7 separate regions of the Homo sapiens genome follow, and all the other regions are linked to region 1. Evidence: promoter capture Hi-C in 16 types of primary human blood cells and fetal thymus (Javierre and others, 2016). All regions are on one chromosome and are shown on one strand. Each heading gives the region's core, a stretch centred on a gene start or on the middle of the fragment in contact. The rest is flanking DNA. Distances are from core to core; before and after follow the strand shown.

The links. The method cuts DNA at HindIII sites, captures the fragments that hold promoters and counts their contacts. A CHiCAGO score of 5 or more calls a contact.
Region 2: a contact is called between a fragment that was not itself captured here and the fragment with the promoter of AASDH in region 1, in 1 of 17 cell types (naive B cells). The highest score is 5.4, in naive B cells.
Region 3: a contact is called between a fragment that was not itself captured here and the fragment with the promoter of AASDH in region 1, in 2 of 17 cell types (total CD8 T cells and total B cells). The highest score is 6.3, in total CD8 T cells.
Region 4: the fragment with the promoter of IGFBP7-AS1 here is called in contact with the fragment with the promoter of AASDH in region 1 in 1 of 17 cell types (monocytes); the score reaches 8.9 in monocytes.
Region 5: a contact is called between a fragment that was not itself captured here and the fragment with the promoter of AASDH in region 1, in 1 of 17 cell types (monocytes). The highest score is 5.9, in monocytes.
Region 6: a contact is called between a fragment that was not itself captured here and the fragment with the promoter of AASDH in region 1, in 1 of 17 cell types (naive CD8 T cells). The highest score is 5.7, in naive CD8 T cells.
Region 7: a fragment that was not itself captured here is called in contact with the fragment with the promoter of AASDH in region 1 in 10 of 17 cell types (naive CD4 T cells, naive CD8 T cells, total CD4 T cells and 7 more); the score reaches 9.8 in naive CD4 T cells.

What each region holds. Positions count from the first base shown.
Region 1 is chr4:56,386,127-56,388,891 of GRCh38, reverse strand. AASDH (aminoadipate-semialdehyde dehydrogenase) reads left to right here and starts at 1,401. Exons shown (of 15, transcript NM_181806.4): 1 at 1,401-1,530. RefSeq lists enhancers at 1,057-1,106, 969-1,475, 1,137-1,506, 1,476-1,983. The HindIII fragment of the contact is 3,410 bases long and covers 1-2,691 here.
Region 2 is chr4:55,392,055-55,394,819 of GRCh38, reverse strand. No RefSeq gene overlaps it. Among named protein-coding and RNA genes, the nearest start is that of TMEM165, 2.5 kb to the left of the region's middle. The HindIII fragment of the contact is 2,154 bases long and covers 326-2,479 here.
Region 3 is chr4:55,535,040-55,537,804 of GRCh38, reverse strand. The region is part of intron 1 of CLOCK (clock circadian regulator); the gene reads left to right. Among named protein-coding and RNA genes, the nearest start is that of CLOCK, 10 kb to the left of the region's middle. The HindIII fragment of the contact is 597 bases long and covers 1,145-1,741 here.
Region 4 is chr4:57,108,359-57,111,123 of GRCh38, reverse strand. It overlaps IGFBP7-AS1 (IGFBP7 antisense RNA 1), which reads right to left and starts at 1,362. Exons shown (of 5, transcript NR_034081.1): 1 at 1,154-1,362. It overlaps IGFBP7 (insulin like growth factor binding protein 7), which reads left to right and starts at 739. Exons shown (of 5, transcript NM_001553.3): 1 at 739-1,247. The coding sequence starts at 773. RefSeq lists a silencer at 601-670. The HindIII fragment of the contact is 3,416 bases long and covers 1-2,253 here.
Region 5 is chr4:57,051,295-57,054,059 of GRCh38, reverse strand. The region is part of intron 1 of IGFBP7 (insulin like growth factor binding protein 7); the gene reads left to right. Among named protein-coding and RNA genes, the nearest start is that of IGFBP7-AS1, 57 kb to the left of the region's middle. The HindIII fragment of the contact is 3,080 bases long and covers 1-2,765 here.
Region 6 is chr4:57,010,569-57,013,333 of GRCh38, reverse strand. It overlaps POLR2B (RNA polymerase II subunit B), which reads right to left. Exons shown (of 25, transcript NM_000938.3): 12 at 2,447-2,586; 13 at 2,234-2,345. Among named protein-coding and RNA genes, the nearest start is that of POLR2B, 33 kb to the right of the region's middle. The HindIII fragment of the contact is 8,493 bases long and covers 1-2,765 here.
Region 7 is chr4:56,958,478-56,961,242 of GRCh38, reverse strand. No RefSeq gene overlaps it. Among named protein-coding and RNA genes, the nearest start is that of NOA1, 18 kb to the left of the region's middle. The HindIII fragment of the contact is 9,798 bases long and covers 1-2,765 here.

The DNA of each region.
Region 1 (2,765 bases), core at 152-2,651:
GGGAAATAGATACTGCAAGGGAAGAAAAACTTTAAAAAAGGTATCATTAATATCAGAGAGTTGGATGATGATACTGGAATAATAAAACATCATTTTGGCAGCAATTCAGAGTCAATCAGAGGCAAACAAAACTGAAAACGTTTTAGGAAAAAGCTGACCAAGAAGACCTGAACTAAAGTAGCAGTAATGGCGATGAACATGACACTTAAAAAACGCAGGTTCTAGGCCCCTCACTAGAAAACTAGGGGATGAACCTCCGGGGATGGAGTCCAGGAATTTGGAATCTTCTAAAACATCACCACCGGCAATTCTGATGTAGCCAGCTGGGTGCTGGTCTCAAGACTGAGAACTAGAGGACATAGGGTCTAATCGGATGTAAGAGGTTAAGAAAGTGGGAAGGTTGATAACTGTCTGGCTGGGTGGATGATGGTGTCATCCCAACGTAGAAACATAGAAACATAGACAAGATACACTTTTGCCCACTTCCAACCTAAATACATAAATAAGGCTGTGTTAGTTTGAGTAGTCCATGGTACATCTTGGAAAAGTATAGTTGGCATGTGGAGATATTTTTTGCTTAGATTAGAAGCACAGTTTCTTGTCACCAACAACTACGGCTGCGAGAGCGTCCTATGCTTTTTTCTCACGTACTGTTTTGATGCAGAGCTGTCTTCGCAGTCCCTCCCCCGGCTAAAACCCCCCAAACAAAAAAATCCCGATTATTCTGCCACCAGACAGTAGCTTTAAAACACCTCTGTTATTGCCCTTGACGCTTATTGTAATAATTGACATGTCTCCAACTGTAACAATTCCCTTGGAAACAGAAAGTTCTATTCAGGCATATAGTTTACAAAACTCCACCTCGGACCTGCTTTAATTTCTTTACAGGTCCTACTAAATGCTCCTGTCAAATTCCTTAGTTATCGTTTCAATCTGCTTCCCAATTAAAATGTCAGCATCATGATGACAGGAACGTCGTTTGCAGGCGTCACTGCTGCAGCCATATCTCCAGCACGTTTCCAGAAAATGTCATTGGTTGAAAGCAATAACTCTCCTATTTCACAATGATTTCATCTCTCTTCACATCAACCCTAGGTGATGTTTTTATTCTCACCTTATGAACGAGAATACTGCGGCTCAAAATTCAAGAGTCTTGCCCAGAGTTTTTTGGCAAGTACGAAAGGGTTATGGCTCCAAACTGGTTAGCTCCGAAGTCCTTGCAAACCCTGTCCGAGACCATGCGCGACCCCAAGGAGCGCCTGAGCAGATAACCAAAAGTGAAAAAGCCTATAGACCTCTTCACTCAAGTTAGCGCCTCGGCTTCAGGAGAGGCAGCGCCAGCTCCACGCAGCCGGCCCGGGGTCGCTCGCACTGACGTCACGTAGCGACGCGGAAGATTTACGTATGGTGCCTCGCTCTGGGATAGCTTTACGGCTTCTGGGAGCTGCTGCTTCGCTGTGAGAAGTATCCGCGACGAGCTATCCGGGAAAGGGCCGAATGCGATCAAACCTAATCCGCGAGACTTGCTAAGTGAGTCGCGGCAGGGCGCGGTGTCCGGCGGGGGTCTGTGTGAAGGAGGCGAAGTGCCGCTAGGCCTGAGCCTGCTTCCACATACATTTGCTCAGCTTCAGGACCACTGCCTGACCTCGGATTTGATACATCGGGGTCTGGCGTGCTGGTGTGGTGCAGACTAACCCTGACCTGTGTGTACACTCCTGCGTCACTAGCCTCCGCCCCTCCATTCAAATGGAAATAAGTGTGCTCCGCGCTCAGCTACCCCCTAGAGTGGTTTCGAAGAGCAATGAAGAAATGTTTAGGAAGCTGTAAATTGCATTGTTACTCGTTGCATACCGTAAATTTAGAAGCCGGGGAATTGGGAAAATAAAGTTTCTAGATTATTTATCCATTTTTAAAACAGCCAGTGGCCTAGAGAGAGGCCCCATAGCAATTGAATTTGCTGACACTCTTAAGATCTTTGTTGACTAAATAGCAGCTTCTACAGTTGTAGCAAGTAAATTTATTCCTTTTACATGTAAAATCTGCTTACCAGAGTTTGCTTTTTTTTTTCCTTTTTTTTTTTTTTTTTTTTTTTGAGACGGAGTCTCGCTCTGTCGCCCAGGCCGGACTGCGGACTGCAGTGGCGCAATCTCGGCTCACTGCAAGCTCCGCTTCCCGGGTTGACGCCATTCTCCTGCCTCAGCCTCCCGAGTAGCTGGGACTACAGGCGCCCGCCACCGCGCCCGGCTAATTTTTTGTATTTTTAGTAGAGACGGGGTTTCACCTTGTTAGCCAGGATGGTCTCGATCTCCTGACCTCATGATCCACCCGCCTCGGCCTCCCAAAGTGCTGGGATTACAGGCGTGAGCCACCGCGCCCGGCCTTTTTTTCCTTTTTAAGGTCTCAAACATTTGGGCATTAATAAGTTTAGTATTCTCTACTGCAGAGAATGTTATTTGTGATTCAATGAATGAAAATGAAAACCTGAGACAAGAAGAATGGATTTTACCTTAAATGTCTGTAGCAACCATTGGGAAAATGGAAAGAAACATCTTAATTATCGTATAGATGTGTAGGTACCCTTCTGCGCTACCTGTATGTTGCGAAATGAACTCATTCCTCATAATTTAAGCGCCTGCTGCAGAAAGCCTCCCTTATATTTACATAATGATCATTGTATGTCTGAGGAAAGCTTAAAATTGTATCTTGTGCATTAAAAAGAGCTAATATTTATAGAAATGCCTACTAAAAATAAATAATGTAAGTAC
Region 2 (2,765 bases), core at 153-2,652, 990 kb after region 1:
GAGATCTCGGCCCACTGCAACCTCCTCCTCCCGGGTACAAGAGATTCTCCTGCCTCAGCTTCCCGAGTAGCTGGGATTACAGGCATGCTCCACCATACGCGGCTAACTTTGTAATTTTAGTAGAGATGGGGTTTCTCCATGTTGGTCAGGCTGGTCTCGAACTCCAGACCTCAGGTGATCTGCCGGCCTCGTCCTCTCAAAGTGCTGGGATTACAGGTGTGAGCCACCGCGGCCGGCCTCCGTCCATGTTATTCTGTCCGTAATTCCCCTTCTTCCATTCTCTCCTTGTAAACTCCTACTCATACTTCCAAAACCTATTCAAGCTTCCACTCTCAGAACTTTTCCCCAACACATGGCGTTACAGAATTTGTCACTTGTTCCTTCATGTTATTGCTTTATGCATTCTTCTATTACTGTGTAAGTAGGATGCCTCCACTTACAGTTTGGGGTGTGTTAAAAGAAAAACCTTAGACAAATTAAACTTAACAGCGTTTAATCAAGCAAAGAACCCAAAGAATGATCTGCAAATCAAAAAGACCCCAAATCAAAGTAAGTTCAGAGAGGCTCCAGTCTTGCCGAGTGGTCGGAAAAAATAAAGTGACTTACAGAAAACATAATTGAGGGACAGAAACAGCTGGATTGGTTGTAGCTCAGGTTTGCCCTATTTGAACACGGTTTGAACAGTTGGCCACTTGTGATTGGCCAGAACTCTGTGATTGGTACAAGAATAGGTTACAGTCTGTTTACATACCCAATTAGGCTACAGTTCACCATGTATGGGGAAACCTTTAGGCCTAACTTAAAATATGTAAGGAGGCAGCTTTACACTAAATTTAACAGATGCAACTATCATCCCTGGAGTGCAAATGTTTGAGCTTTCAGAAGCCAGTAATAACATAAAACCCAGAAGCCCAAACTTCAACTACCTCCCCTTAATGCATACAGGATTTGCTGTGCTTAAAAGGGGCCTGAAAGGGAGGCTTGAGGTCCCAAGGGAGGGACCTGAAAGGAGCAGCTTAGGCTGAAGACAGAGCCAGAAGGGTGAATGTAGCAAAACTGGCTGTGTGTCCCTCATTGCTGAAAGCTGCTTTGTTTATTTTCTAGGATGGGCTGCCCACACTCCAGGGCTTTCTCACAGGAAGGACTCCTGGCCAAATTCAGTCATCTCAACATATGAGGCAGTGAGGACTTCTGGGCTACAGCTGCAGGATGCTGAAGCACCAGCTGCTGAGCATGCAGTGGTTCAGGGGCAAGGCAGCAAAGCTATTTGGCAGAAGATGTAACATAAATGGAGATAGAGCATTGGCGAACTGGCACAGTGGTGTCAGCAAAGCATCAGAATCTGGGCCAGAGTGAGACCTTTCTAGCCTGCCCCAGTGTCACCCTGATCCAAGGGCCTTCAGGTGCTGCCAGGCTAGGCTCTAGGTGTCTGATTCTCATGGGATCTGGTATTTCTGTTTCCACACACATCTACCTCCTGGGATCCGTGCTCAGGCGTGCTAAATCGAGGCTGGCTCCAGTTTTCACCACCTTGAGGGTTTAGAGCCATCATCCTTCTAGTCCTCATTGGTGACTAACTCCCTTAAAAAAAGCAATTAAAAAACTATAGGAGCTTTCCTGATACCTTTCTTGAAGGACAACTGAAGCTACTTATTTAACCCCCTACCCAATAAGGATGTGGGTGGCGCAACAATTCCAAGATGATATATTTTTTAATCATAGCCTACACCGATATAGTCTTACTAAAATGTAACCACTGTCAGGCATCCTATGGAAAGAAACCCTACTACATGTGCATTACATTGTATTTTATTTAATTAATTTATTTATTTATTTTTGAGGTGGAGTCTCGCTCTGTTGCCCAGGCTGGAATGCAGTGGCAAGATCTCGGCTCACTGCAGCCTCCGCCTCCCGGGTTCAAGCAATTCTCCTGCCTCAGCCTCCTGAGTAGCTGGGATTACAGGCATGTGCTACACGCCCCACTAATTTTTTGTATTTTTAGTAGAGACGGGTTTACCATGTTAGCCAGGATGGTCTTGATCTCCTGACCTCGTGATCCGTCCGCCTTGGCCTCCCAAAAGTGCTGGGATTATAGGCATGAGCCACTGTGCCTGACCTATATTTTATTTTTTATTTATTTATGTAGAGATGGAGTCTCGCTCTGTCACCCAGGCTGGAGTGCAGTGGTGCGATCTCAGCTCACTGCAACCTCTACCTCCCAGGTTCAAGCGATTCTCCTGCCGCAGCCTCCAAAGTAGCTGGGACTATAGGCGCCCGCCACCATGCCTGGCTAATTTTTGTATTTTTAGTAGAGACAGGGTTTCACCATGTTAGCAAGGCAGGTCTCGAACTCCTGACCTCAAGTAATCCATCCACCTCGGCCTCCCAAAGTGCTGGGATTGCAGGTGTGAGCCACTGAGCCGGGCCTGCACTGTATTTTAATGTCTTTTATTCCAACACCCTTACTAAGCCTTAAGCTTCTAGATGGTAAGGTTATGCCTTTTATCTTTATATTTCTAGCACCTAGTAGATTATATAAGAAGGTAATGGGAATAGTTATCATTAAAGTAGTAGTAAAACTTTATTGAATGCTATTCTGATCCAGTCAGAGCACTAAGTGTGTTACATGAATTATTTCTATCCTCCTTTTTGCAAATGAGAAATCTGAGACTTAGGTCAAGGAACTTTCCTCAAATTACACAGCTAGTAAGTAGCAGAATTATGCCTCATACCTGTTTGTTGAATTCACCTATGCTCCACTTACT
Region 3 (2,765 bases), core at 194-2,693, 850 kb after region 1:
TATTTATTTGTTTTTTGAGACAAGGTCTCACTACTGCTCAGGCAGTACAGTATCGTGATCATGGCCCATTGCAGCCTTGACCTCTCAGGCTCAAGTGATCCTCCCACCTCAGCCTCCTGAGTAGCTGGGACTGCAGGCATGTGCCACCATGCCTGGCTAATTTTTTATTTTTATTTTTATTTTTTTGAGACTGGGTCTCACTCCGTTGCCTAGGCTTTAGTGCAGTGGCCCAATCACGGGGTCACCACAGTGTCGACGTCTCAGGCTCAAGAGATCCTCGCACCAGAGTCTATTAAGTGCTGGGATTACAGGCGCGTGCCATCATGCCTGGCTAATTTTTGTATTTTTTGTAGAGATAGGGTTTCACTATGTTGCCCAGGCTGGTCGTCAACTCCTGAGCTCAGGCAATCCACTTGCCTCAGCCTCCCAAAGTGCTAGGATTACAGGTGTAAGCCACCACACCTGGCCAGAGTTTATTACAATTTTTTCTGAAGACAAGGATGTCACTGTGTTGCCCATGTTGGTCTTGAACTCAGTTCAAGCAATCCTCTTTCCTTGGCCTCCTGGAGTGCTGGGATACAGATGTGAGCCTCCACTCCTGGCCGTTTCCAGTTTTTGATATGTTTCCATTTTCATTCCATTCAGAGTACTTTATAATTTCTTTCCTGATGTCTTACTGGGTCTATAGTTTATTTATAAGTGTGTTATATAGTTTTCAAATATTTGAGGATTTTCCAGAGATCATTGTTATTTTTAATTTAATTCCATTGTAATGAGATAATTTTAAATTTATTCGGATTTATTTTATGGCCTAGAATATATTCTATCATTGTAAGTGTTCTTCATGTGCAGTTGAAAAGAATGTGTGTTTTGTTGTTAGGTGGAGTGTTTTACAAATGTCAGTTAGGTCAAGTCTGTTGATTGTTTTGTTTATGTCTCATAATTTTTTATTGAATGCCAGGCATTGTGTAGTAAAAAACTTAAGTAAGCATTACCAGGTAATGGTACATTTTGCCGGGTTGGGAGAGGGGTGGGGGAAGGGGAAGTTCATTTTCTATGCAGATAGGCTAGGGAGCTGTATTAGTCTGTTTGCATTACTATAAAAGAATACGTGAGACTGGGTAATTTATAAAGAAAAGAAGCTTAATTGGCTTACGGTTCTCCAAAGTGTATAGGAAGCATGGTGCCGGCATCTGCTTATAGTGAGGCTTAGTAAGTTTCTAGTCATGGCTGAAAGTGAAGGGAGAGCAGGTGCATGACAAGGCAAGAGTGGGAGCAAGAGAGCAAGGTGGGGCAGGTCCCAGACTTTTCAACAACCAGATCTTGTGTGAACTCACTTATTACCGAGGAGATGGTACTAAACCATTCATGAGGGATCTGCCCCCATGATCCAGTTGCCTCCTACTGGGCCCAACTTCCAACATTGGGAATTACATTTACATTTCATCATGAGATTTGGAGGGGACAAGCATCCAACCCATATCAGGAGCCCATCATCTTAAATTATGTGGAGGCTGGGTTGCTATTTTAATAGTTTGCTATCCTTATTTTTCCTTGTTTTTTCAGATGTTGTCTTCTAAGGCATTCATTTCAAAGCCTATTGGTCTTGTCCCTTTAGCAATGCCAAAGGTAGGAAATTTCACTTTGCTTTTCAAAGTTTTTTAGTTGACTTTGTAGCCTTTTACCCTGCACGGTTTTAAAATTCAGCAAGTATGCTGAGGGGAGATACCACCTTTAAGCTTGAGGTCCTTGCGTGAAACTTTTTAGGAGAATTAGTCTCCTAGTGTTGTTATTCCAGCCCTGTGTGAACACCAAAAGCTGTCCTGGCTTCTGTGTTCCTCAGCAACAATATTTTACACAGGTCAGGCCTCAATTTTCAGCCTCTAACCCAAGCAATAATTAGGAAATACTCCCAGGGAAAAGACAGATACTGGTCATCTAAATACCTTTAAAATATTCTCCCCATCTCTGAGGTGGAGGTTGCAGTGAGCCAAGATTGTGCCACTGCACTCCAGCCTGGGTGACAGAGCAACAAGACTCCATCTCAAAAAAAAAAAAAAAAAAAGATTCTCCCATCACTGGAATTTTAGACCTTCTTTCCCATGCTTCCACAGCTCCTCACTAACTTTAAAAATATGATTTTTATAATTTATTTAGCTTTTTAAGTTGTTCTTAGCAAGAATATTGGCCTGCTTCAAACTAGTTCATTTTACCTAAGTGCAGACAATTTCCTATTATTATTATTATTGTCATTTATTTTTGCAGAGATAGGATGTGACTTTGTTGCCCAGGCTTGTCTTGAACTCCTGGGCTCAAGTGATCCTCCTGCTTTGACCTTCCAAATTATTAGGATTACAGGCATGAGCCACTCTAGCTGGCGCCTGTCATTTTTTAAAGGTATGCAGAATACTCAATATTTATGAGCTGTTTTATGTAGTGTTCTTTAGGTATTTTGTTGTTGGGTTTCAGTTTTTGATGTATATTTTTTAAAATTGATTTTTATTGGGGTATAATGTATATATGTTAAAATCTGCCCAATTTAAGTATGCAGCTTGAGTTTTGACAAACCTAAACATTCTTGTAATCACCATAATCAAGAAGCAAAAAAATTTTTTTTTATACTGATAAAGAGGTCTTTCTGTATTGACCAGGTTGGAGTGTAGTGGCAATATAGCGAGGCCTTTGGCTCTCCAAAAAAATAGAAAAAAATTAGCCAGACATGGTGGCATGCACTTGTGATCCCACCTACTCAGGAGGCTGAGATG
Region 4 (2,765 bases), core at 113-2,612, 720 kb before region 1:
CCGAGAGGCTTGCTGGAGGGCGAGCAGTTCAGCAAGAACTCAAAACAAGGGCACAGCTCTCACACGGATTCCAGTACTCACTGAAAACGGCTCAGCACAAAAAAAGCACAGAGTCTTGTTGAATGCCACTGGGAGACAAAGCGGGGAGGGAGGTGCAGGCAGTTAAGAGGTTCCAGAAAGGGAAGTGGTTGGCAACGGTTTGTCCTTTTAGTGCTTGACACCCAAGACCACAGCAGGCCTGTGGCCAGCGGGGACACAGTCCACAAGTGGGGGTTTTTAACAGCTTGTTCTTAAGAGAGCTTCCCAAACCACAGAGTAATGAGCACTCAGGTGTCTCAGGCCCACGGAGGATTTAATAGATGAAACCCTGGATCGTCTCGAAGCCGTGGTTGTTAAGAAGTTTAAATATATTGACCGGAAACGGGGAGAAACCAGAGGGTGGAAGAGCCGCTCGCACTGCGGTGCGATCCCTGAGGGCTCGGGGCAGGGGACTGGGGACCGAGCAGGAGCTGGCGGGGTGAGCTCTGCGAAGCGGGCGTGAGACCGAGCGCCCATGGGCCGGTCACGCCGGGTGCCCGCTCACCCCCCGACGCCAGCAGGAGCGCGCGCGCAGGCCCCGCGGGGCCGGGAGGGCGGCACGGGCGGGGCCCCCGTGCTCTCACCGCCCCGGGGTGTGGTTCCCGCGGACAGGCCGGGCGGGGCGGCGGGTTTAAGGCGCCGGCCGGCCCGACACGGCTCACTCGCGCCCTTGCCGCTGCCACCGCACCCCGCCATGGAGCGGCCGTCGCTGCGCGCCCTGCTCCTCGGCGCCGCTGGGCTGCTGCTCCTGCTCCTGCCCCTCTCCTCTTCCTCCTCTTCGGACACCTGCGGCCCCTGCGAGCCGGCCTCCTGCCCGCCCCTGCCCCCGCTGGGCTGCCTGCTGGGCGAGACCCGCGACGCGTGCGGCTGCTGCCCTATGTGCGCCCGCGGCGAGGGCGAGCCGTGCGGGGGTGGCGGCGCCGGCAGGGGGTACTGCGCGCCGGGCATGGAGTGCGTGAAGAGCCGCAAGAGGCGGAAGGGTAAAGCCGGGGCAGCAGCCGGCGGTCCGGGTGTAAGCGGCGTGTGCGTGTGCAAGAGCCGCTACCCGGTGTGCGGCAGCGACGGCACCACCTACCCGAGCGGCTGCCAGCTGCGCGCCGCCAGCCAGAGGGCCGAGAGCCGCGGGGAGAAGGCCATCACCCAGGTCAGCAAGGGCACCTGCGAGCAAGGTGGGCACGAGCGCTTCCCTCTCCAACCCTGCGCCGCTCGGCCCAGCGAAGGGCACATCCGACGGGGCGTCCGCGGCGGCCTCGCCCCGCGCTGCTCACTGCGATTCCCCCGCGGGCATCCCAGGAGCCAGATGGGAGGGAAAGAGTTGGCAGCCGCGGAATGCCAGGAGCGGTGGGCGACGCCCCCCCTTCTCCTTTTTGGTGGTTTTATTTTGAGAGTTTGCTGCGTGCGTCCAGAAAGTGAGGGCCGGGTGTATATGTAGAAAAGATTTTCCGAGACCTCAGACTTCCCCATGCCCAAAGCGCACCCAACTCGTGCTAACATCTGTCCATTTCTCATCATTCTTGGCTTGGGGATGTAGAGAGAGGTGAAGTCAAGAGATGGGGGAAAGGAGTTTGACAATTAAATATAAAGTAAGGACTTCCAGACAGACTTTTTTTTTTAAAAGATAGGATCTTGCTCTGTCGCCCAGGGTGGAGGGCAGTGGCACGATCTTGGCCCACTGCAACCTCTGCCTCAAGCGATCCTCCTGCCTCAGCCTCCCAAGTAGCTGGGACTATAAGCCTGTGCCACCACGCCTGGCCAATTTTTGGTTTTTTGTTTTGTTTTGTTTTGTTTTATAGCGACGGAGTTTCACTATGTTGCCTAGGCTGGTCTCGAACTCCTGAGCTCAAGTAATCCCGGCCTGCTGGGATTACAGGCATAAACCACCGTGCACAGCCCTGATTTCTTAGTATTGAAGAAAATAGTCCACTTTCTAAAAATTATAGGTTCTCAAACAGTAATCTAACTAGCTAATTATTTGTGGGCAAAAATAAAATACAAACTCTTTGAAGACTGTTTTTGTGATGCACTTTGTTGTCAACCTTCTGACCATTTTGTTTTTCCTTCCTATTTCTTTGATTTGTATTGTTTTGCATAATTTGTCCCCAGGATACACTGTTCAGCAGAAATGTCTTTGAGATTATGTTTGATTGTTTATTTTATTCCAAACAAGTCCAAGCTTGCTGTAAATGAAATAAGGAAATAGGCCGGGTGGGTTGGCTCACGTCTGTAATCCCAGCACTTTGGGAGGCCAAGATGGGCAGATCACGAGGTCAGGAGTTCGAGATCAGCCTGACCAACACGGTGAAACCCCATCTCTAATAAAAAATATATATATATACATTAGCTGGGCATGGTGGTGCATGCCTGTAATCACAGCTACTCAGGAGGCTGAGGCAGGAGAATCGCTTGAATCTGGGAGGCGGAGGTTGCAGTGAGCCGAGATCACATGACAGCACTCCAGCCTGGGTGACAGACAGAGACCCCATCTCAAAAAAAAAAGAAAGAAAGAAGAAAATAAAGTCTGGACTTGCAAATACACGCACATACACACACACATAGAAATTTTAACTCTAATGCCTGAAATAACATTTTCCATTGGCAGTATTTTCAAGGGAAAGTCAGACATTCAATGTTGGCAGCTCCTGATCTTAGCCAAGGTAGAAAAGGGAGAGGAGGCAGTTCTGAGGTTA
Region 5 (2,765 bases), core at 75-2,574, 670 kb before region 1:
GACCAACCTGGGCAATGTAACAAGATCTCATCCCAAGAAAAGAAGGAGAAATTTCCTAGGGAAACTCACTATCTAGGCTTCTAGGAATCCCAGAATCAGGTGTGACCATCCACGTGGTTAGCAATAAGTTTCCTATGGGAACTTCCCACCCAATTCAGTGCTTGCAGAATAAGAAAGCGCTAGCAAAAACATTTAATATCTTGTATTTAAGGTGAGTCATAGTCCAGACAGGACAGGCCCATGAGATGTGGAAAAAATGTGTTTCCAAGGCTATGTTAACATCACTAGGGAGTTTCGTCTCGGGAAAGCACTCTCTATAAAGTCAGTTCTTCCAGGTCCTCAAACCAATTCAAAACCTAGCCTGCTGATTCAACTTGTGTGGACCTCAGCCAGTCTGGTATTAGGATGATAGTGTAGGTATTCCAGCTTCCTAGGGGAGCTCTGCTGAATACGTTAGCTCATCCCTGGGCAATGTTGTTGGCACAGCCCCATGTTACCTCATCTATCACATGGTTACCAGAGCGAGCTCACCATCTTGCACACCTGAACATGGTTTCAAGTCCTTCATGGATTTGCTTCATGGCAGTAGCAGGGTCCCTTCAAGAATGACACCAGACCACATGTACCAGAACCACCATGGGCAAGAACCACACCCTGGAGTCAGACTCTTTGTCAGTACCCCACTTTTTTTTAATGCTAGACCCATACAAGGAAGGGGACAAGAATAAGAAAACATCATCAAGGGCCAGGTGCGGTGGCTCACGCCTATAATCCCAGCACCCTGGGAGCCCGAAGCGGGCAGATCACCTGAGGTCAGGAGTTCGAGATCAGCCTGATCAACATGGTGAAACTCCATCACTGCTAAAATTACAAAAATTAGCCAGGTGTGATGGTGTGTGCCTGTAGTATCAGCTACTCTGGAGGCTGAGGCAGGAGAACTGCTTGAACCTGGGAGGCAGGGGCTGCAGTGAGCCGAGATTGTACCACTGCACTCCAGCCTGGGCGACAGAGTAAGACTTCATTTCAAAAAAAAAAAAAAAGATAGAAAAGAAAGCATCATCAAATAAGAGATTTGTTTGCAAGCAACCAACACATTGCAAGAAGCAACTTTCTGTGCATGTTCTGTGGTCAATTCAAAATTACAGTGATAATTGTGAGATATCACAAGATTGACAGTCATCGTAGTGAGATATTTGAGTACTATGTCCACTTGAGAAAAACAGACTTCATGCTCCCTACGAAGATTCTCAGCATCAAAGATTGGACCCAAAACGAGGTGTCTTATTAATCCAGAGGTAACTAGCAATCAGCCAGGAACTCAACTCACAAGACCTGGGCACGCGGTCACCAGGGCAGCATTGTATTGAATGGTCTGCTCTTAGATGGACTGGCCCTGCAAATACGTGCCTGGAAGCTAAGCAAGGCCGTGCTATTCACTTATCTGCTTTACCTGGGGTGGGGTGGGGACGGGCCAGGTGGTCAGCAGTGAGCTGATGGAACTCCCTCTGGAGAAACTAGTGAGAGGGAGTGCCAAATCTGTCTTCCTTCCACCCAAAGGACCCCACATAGCCTTCCCAGGGCTAAAATGTCAGCTAGACAGTGCTTGCCTTGGCACTTCTGGTCTCCCCACTGGGGTTCAGTGCCTCCTCATGGCCCAGGTGATACCTGAAATTCAGCAAATTTAAACCCAAGTCCACCCTTTCCCCTTCTTCAATCCAGCACCTTCCTCAGACTGACACCCCTGCTTCTGTTCATGGTGCGGCAGCCTCCTGGAACCTTTGAGGCTCACAGCCTTTAAATCATGCCTCTCTTTCCTACATCCAGTCAGTTACTGGGTAGTGTTAGTTCTTCCTGAATAATCCCCCAAGTCTTCCCCTTTTCTCTGTCTTCTCATTGCTGCGACCTTGAGTTAGAGCCTTAATCCCCGCCATGTCCCATCCTGATGCGGAGACCTCCAAAATCATCTTGGGAAATGCCACTTGAATCATGACACTCCCACTTTCAGAGACACATTGGAGGGTGAGGCCCCACCTCATCTGCTTTCTGCTGTGCCCTACACCACACACGAATCCTCTTCCCGAGCTGGCCCGCATGCTCACTATTCAAGGCAGGCCAGCGTTTTCCTGCCTCTCCTCAGGCAGGTCCCTGTCTTTCACCTTCCTTGATGAAAGTCTAATTTCTGAAATGAAAAGCAACAGCTCATACTTACTGAATGTTTACCCCATGCCAGGTACTGTGCTAATGGCTGTATCTTGTTTGATCCTTTTGATGGTCTAATGACTGGGATACTATCATTCCATTTCACAGATGAATAAAGCAGGGGAAGTGAAATAACTTGTGCAATGTTGCATAACTCAGGAGTGGTAGAGCAGAATTCCTGATTCCAAGTCCACGCTCCAAAGTCACTATAGTCTATTACCTCCCAGCATTTTGTTCTTACTCTTAATGCGCTAAGCCTCCCCAACACCACCCCAACAGATTATATTTAGAGAAGAGGAAGCAGTTCTTACACACTTTTGCCCTAAACAGTGTTTGGCAGGGTCCCATTATTATAAACTATTGGTTCTTCATTCACACTAAAGTGGAAATGACTAACAGTAGCTTCCATAACTAGATGAATTTGCCTTAAACTAAAAGCCTGAGATTAAATCTGGCCTATGCTGCTTAAGCTGTTGTACTTTCTTCTCCTCCCCTGCTGTCCTCAGCCAGTACCCCTGAGACCGTGTGCTAGATTCCCATACCAGGGTTCAGCTGCTACATCATCC
Region 6 (2,765 bases), core at 87-2,586, 620 kb before region 1:
AATCACTCTCTTCCTGACTTCAAGCTGTAAATAAGCCTGGGTCAAAACCCAGGGCCAGGCTGGGCTCAGTGGCTCACACCTGTTATCCCAGTACTTTGGAAGGCCAAGGCAGGCAGATGGCTTGAGCCCAGGACTTCAAGACCAGCCTGGCCAACTATGGCAAAACCCCATCTCTACCAAAAATACAAAAATTGGCCAGGTGCAGTGGCTCACGTCTATAATCCCAGCACTTTGGGAGGCTGAGGCAGGTGGATCACCTGAGGTCAGGAGTTCGAGACCAGGCTGGCCAACATGGAGAAACCCAGTCTCTACTAAAAATACAAAAATTAGCCAGGCATGGTGGCAGGCACCTGTAATCCCAGCTACTCAGGAGGCTGAAGCAGGAGAATTGCTTGAACCCGGGAGGCAGACGTTGCAGTGAGCCGAGATCATGCCACTGCACTCCAGCCTGAGCAAGAGAGTGAGACTCCACCTCAAAAAAATAAAAATAGAAATACAAAAATTAGCCGGGCATGGTGGTACACATCTGTAATCCCAGCTACTCAGGAGGCTGAGGCATGAGAATTTCTTGAACCTGGGAGACAGAGGTTGCAGTGAGCTAAGATAGCAACACTCTACTCCAGCCTGGGCAACAAAGCCAGACTCTGTCCCTGCCCCCCAACAACAATAACAAAAAAACACTCAGGGTCTGCTGCTGGAAAAGGCCCAGAACAACCAAACTCTCTTCTCTGCTGTTTTAGGTACAAAGACCAGCTACTGGCTAAGCGTGTTCAGTTTCTCTCAAAAACCACTTTCACCCAAGGTATAGATTTGGGAAAATTAAAAGCCTGAACTACATTCCGCAAACAGTATACTAAAACCCTTACTTGGGAGAGTAATAAAGTTCACAATATATTGTAATGATTTTTTTTTTTTTTAATAAATTTTTGGAGACAGAGTCTCACTCTGTCACCCAGGCTGGAGTACAATGGTGCAATCTCTGCTCATTGCAACCTCTGCCTCCCGGATTTAAGCAATTCTCATGCCTCAGCTTCCCGAGTAGCTGGGACTACAGGCACATGCTACCATGCCCAGCTGATTTTTTTATTTTTAGTAGAGACAGGGTTTTGCCATGTTGGCCAGGCTGGTCTCAAACTCCTGACCTCAAGTGATCCGCCTGCCTCAACTTCCCAAAGTGCTGGGATTACAGGCATGAGCCACCAGGCCCGGCCTTATTGTAATGATTTTTTTAAAACCCATCCTAATCCCAAAGCACTTCAATATCCTCCAAAATATAAAAGAATCTATTAGTGGTATATCACATTTTATTAATGAATCTCTGGATTCAAAGGATAAATCCCAGATGGTTATTCCCTTTTAAAAAGTATTCTCAGCTTTATAAAAAGATTCCCAAAAGAATTTTTACTTTAAAATGTAATTTGAGTTCTAAAATATAATTTAATAATTTAAAATGTGCCAAAATTTTTGGAAGCATGCATCGAAAGATTAAGGCAAGCAATAACTTCTTTTTTTGAGATGGAGTCTCGCTCTGTCGCCAGGCTGGAGTGCAGTGGTGTGATCTTGGCTCACTGCAACCTCCGCCTCCTGGGTTCAAGCAATTCTCCTGCTTCAGCTTCCTGAGTAGCTGGGACTACAGGCGCGCGCCACCACGCCCAGCTAATTTTTGTATTTTTAGTAGAGACAGGGTTTCACCATGTTGGCCAGGATGGTCTCAATCTCTTGACCTTGTGATCCGCCTGCCTTAGCCTCCCAAAGTGCTGGGATTACAGGCGTGAGCCACCATGCCCAGGCTTTTTTTTATTTTTTGAGACAGAGACCCACTCTGTCACCCAGGCTGGAGTGCAGAGGTGCAATCTCACCTCACCATAACCCCCGCCTCCCGGGTTCAAGTGATTCTCCTGTCTCAGCCTCCCGAGTAGCTGCGATTACAGGCCCATGCCACCGTGCCTGGCTAATTGTTGTATTTTTAGTAGAGATGGGGTTTCGCCATATTGGCCAGGCTGCGCTTGAACTCCTGACCTCAGGTGATCTGCGCCTCGGCCTCCCAAAGTGCTGGGATTACAGGCATGAGCCACTGCACCCGGCCTAGCAATAACTTATAATTAAATTTACACTTTACAGTTCAAGGGAATAAAGTTCAAAGAAAAGATGCCAATGCAAAGATAACTTTCACTAGTCCTATGCCTTGTTTAAAAATCTCACAGTCCACACCCTCTTAACTAAAGATTCTTACTTCAGACACAATGATGTCCATCTGACGTCTCAATTTCCTTAGGGTGTTCATAAGTTGTTCGGGATCTTTATGTATTCCAACCCAGCAGCCATTAACAAAAATCTTGGTTGCACTACAATGAAAAAGCAAAAGCATTTTACACTTAACAATTCTATACTAAGCAACAACTAAAGATTAACTATAGTTTAAAAAACTAATTCCATCTATACACACTCAGCAATAGCTGCAGGAGAAATTTCTTCTAAATTTTCCATACTCCATTCTTCTAAAAATTCCAGAATTGGAGATGGTTGAGATCCAACTGAAATATACGCCATCAAGGCTAAATTCTTCACAAGTCCTACAGCATGGCCCTAAAAAATAAACCAAGTATTAGTCATTCTGATTTTACATGCCTATCAAACTTCTTTTCCATAAACATTTTTCCTTCAATGTGATTTCAAGATTTATTCTTACTTTCTAAGAATACAATTATAAAAAAAACTTATTTCTAAACCACTCTGCATAATTTTTCAAACATCTATTTCTAAAA
Region 7 (2,765 bases), core at 175-2,674, 570 kb before region 1:
ACAGAGCGAGACCCTGTCTGAAAAAAGGAAAAAAGAAAAAGTCTACACCTTTTGTTATTCCTAGCTGAGTAAGTAGTACCACAGCTGTGTCATGAAGAATTGGCAAGTCAAGTCCCAGATCCTAATGTTGAAATAAATGCTGGTAAGATAAGCTAGGCTGAAACGCAGTTAGAGCCATGAAATTCCTGAGAGGACCATGTTCTGTCCCAACATATGGGAGCCCCCATGTATTTCACACTCTCCTGTCTTCTCCCCACTCCTCAGTCCTCTTCTAAGTCCTCTTAGATTAAATATAATGGAGAATTTTTTAAGATGATGCAACTTGTTGTAGACCTTTCATAGTGTTTCAAAGTGAGTACTACTGGTATCTTGGGCAAGGTGGTTCTTTCTTTATATATAAAACTGCATTTCAGCCGGGCGCGGTGGCTCACGCCTGTAATCCCAGCACTTTGGAAGACCGAGGCGGGCGGATCATGAGATCAGGAGATTGAGACCATCCTGGCCAACAAGGTGAAACCCCGTCTCTACTAAAAATACAAAAATTAGCTGACTGCGCTGGCGCGTGCCTGTAGTCCCAGCTACTCCGGAGACTGGGGCAGGAAAATCCCTGGAACCTGGTAGGCGGAAGCTGCAGTGAGCCAAGATCGCGCCACTGCAGTCCAGCCTGGGCAACAGAGCAAGACTCCGTCTCAAAAAAAAACAAAAAAACTGCATTTCATTATGTCTGGTATCTCTCATCCCAGACACTAAATGCAGTAGCAACTCCCTCTGCTGTCAGTCCTGGTGACAACTGGAAAGTGCCCCCAACATCATATTACCTCTAGAGGGCGGCAGCTTCCCAAATGGAGAAAATTGATTGGCAGTTGATTTCTAGTTTTTATTTTGGAGGGAATGAAATACCATTTATTTTATAAGTTAAAATTGTGTCTGGGTGCGGTGGCTCACACCTGTAATCCAACACTTTGGGAGGCCAAGGTGGGTGGATCACCTGAGGTCGGGAGTTCGAGAGCAGCCTGACCAACATGGAGAAACCCCATCTCTACTAAAAAAAAAATACAAAATTAGCCAGGTGTGGTGGCACATGCCTGTAATCCCAGCTACTTGGGAGGCTGAGGCAGGAGAATCGCTTGAACCCGGGAGGCAGAGGTTGCGATGAGCTAAGACCGTGCCATTGCACTCCAGCCTGGGCACAAGAGCAAAACTCCATCTCAAAAAAAAAAAAAAAAATTATGGTCATTATATTTCTACCTATGGTTGAAAACAGGAGTTCACAGTTCAGAGCTTAGGCCAGGATATTTAGGTAGAATTAAAACAAAAAACAGGCAGGAAAGAAAGCCAGCAAAGGGTGAACTGGGCCTTTGTGGAGAAACAATCTAAAAACTGACTACTATCACCCTGACAACTTAAGAAAATGTATTTCAGAAAACAGGGCTCACACCCATAATCCAAACACTTTGGGAGGCCAAGGCAGGAGGATCCCTTGAAGCCAGGCATTCAAGACCAGCCCTGGCAACATAGTTAAGACCCTGTCTCTACAAAAAAAAAAATTTAATTTAGCTGGGCATGGTGACACCCACCTGTAGTCTCAGCTATTCAGGAGGCTGAGGTGGGAAGATCCCTTGAGCCTGGGAGGTTGAGGCTGCAGTAAGCCATGATTGCACCACTGCACTCCAGCCTGGGTGACAGAGCAAGACTCCATCTCAAAAAAAAAAAAAGCAGGAAAGAAAGCCAGCAAAAAGAGTGAGAAAGATGCTCTATGCCTAGAATTAGTTGAGGACTTCTACTGGGATCTGGTATTAATTTATTCCATATTGTGCCTCCAATTTAATGCAGCCTAGGATCACTGCTAGGATCAAGTGTTTCCTAGTAGATTTTCCTTTAAGAAAGTTCCATTACTGTATTGGTGCAGTAGTGCATTGCTTAGCAACAGGGATGTGTTCTAAGAAATGCATCGTTAGGCAATTTCATCTTTGGACAAACATCATAAAGTGTATTTACACAAACCTAGATGGTATAGCCTACTCTACACCTAGGCTGTATGGTATAGCCTATGGCTCCTAGGCTACAAACCTGTACAACATGTTGCTGTACTGAATTCTGTAGGCAATTGTAACACAAATCATTAGGCAATAGGTATTTTCTGACTCCATTATAATTTTACCAGACTACGGCTGTATATGTGGCCCATTGCTGACCAAGAAGTCATTATGCGATACATGACTGTACTTCTTTATCCATTAATCTGAATATAACGACATCTTTTGAATCAGTAGTCACTTACACTATGACAGGGTACAAGAATTAGTGGGCTCTTCTGGCCAGGAACGGGAGGAGAAATTAAGGGCAAAGTACCAACTCCTCACTTCCACAGATCACAGAGGTGGTTAGGGGTTGCTAGAAAACAATGAAGCAAGTTTATTCTAGATTGTTTACCTGGCTCTGCAGCACTGTGGTGTTGAGCATGTCACCTCTTTTGTATTCATGACACCCAAAAGAAGTAAAATAAATTCCATCAAAGTACTTTTTGACTTTTATGTGATATTAGGTTCAAAGTTTTATTTTAAAAAGTTACACGTAATCCCTCTGCTTTTCCCCCCTCTAATTAAACTAAAATAACAACATCTTCTTCAAAGTTACTAAGACAAATTAAAGTTGTAATATGTTTTGTATCTTTAATCACCATAAATGCCAAGCTGTGCCGATCACTAAGTCTTTACTGTATAGTTCCCCAGAGTCTAGTTTATTTAACTTGAGACACTCACTTC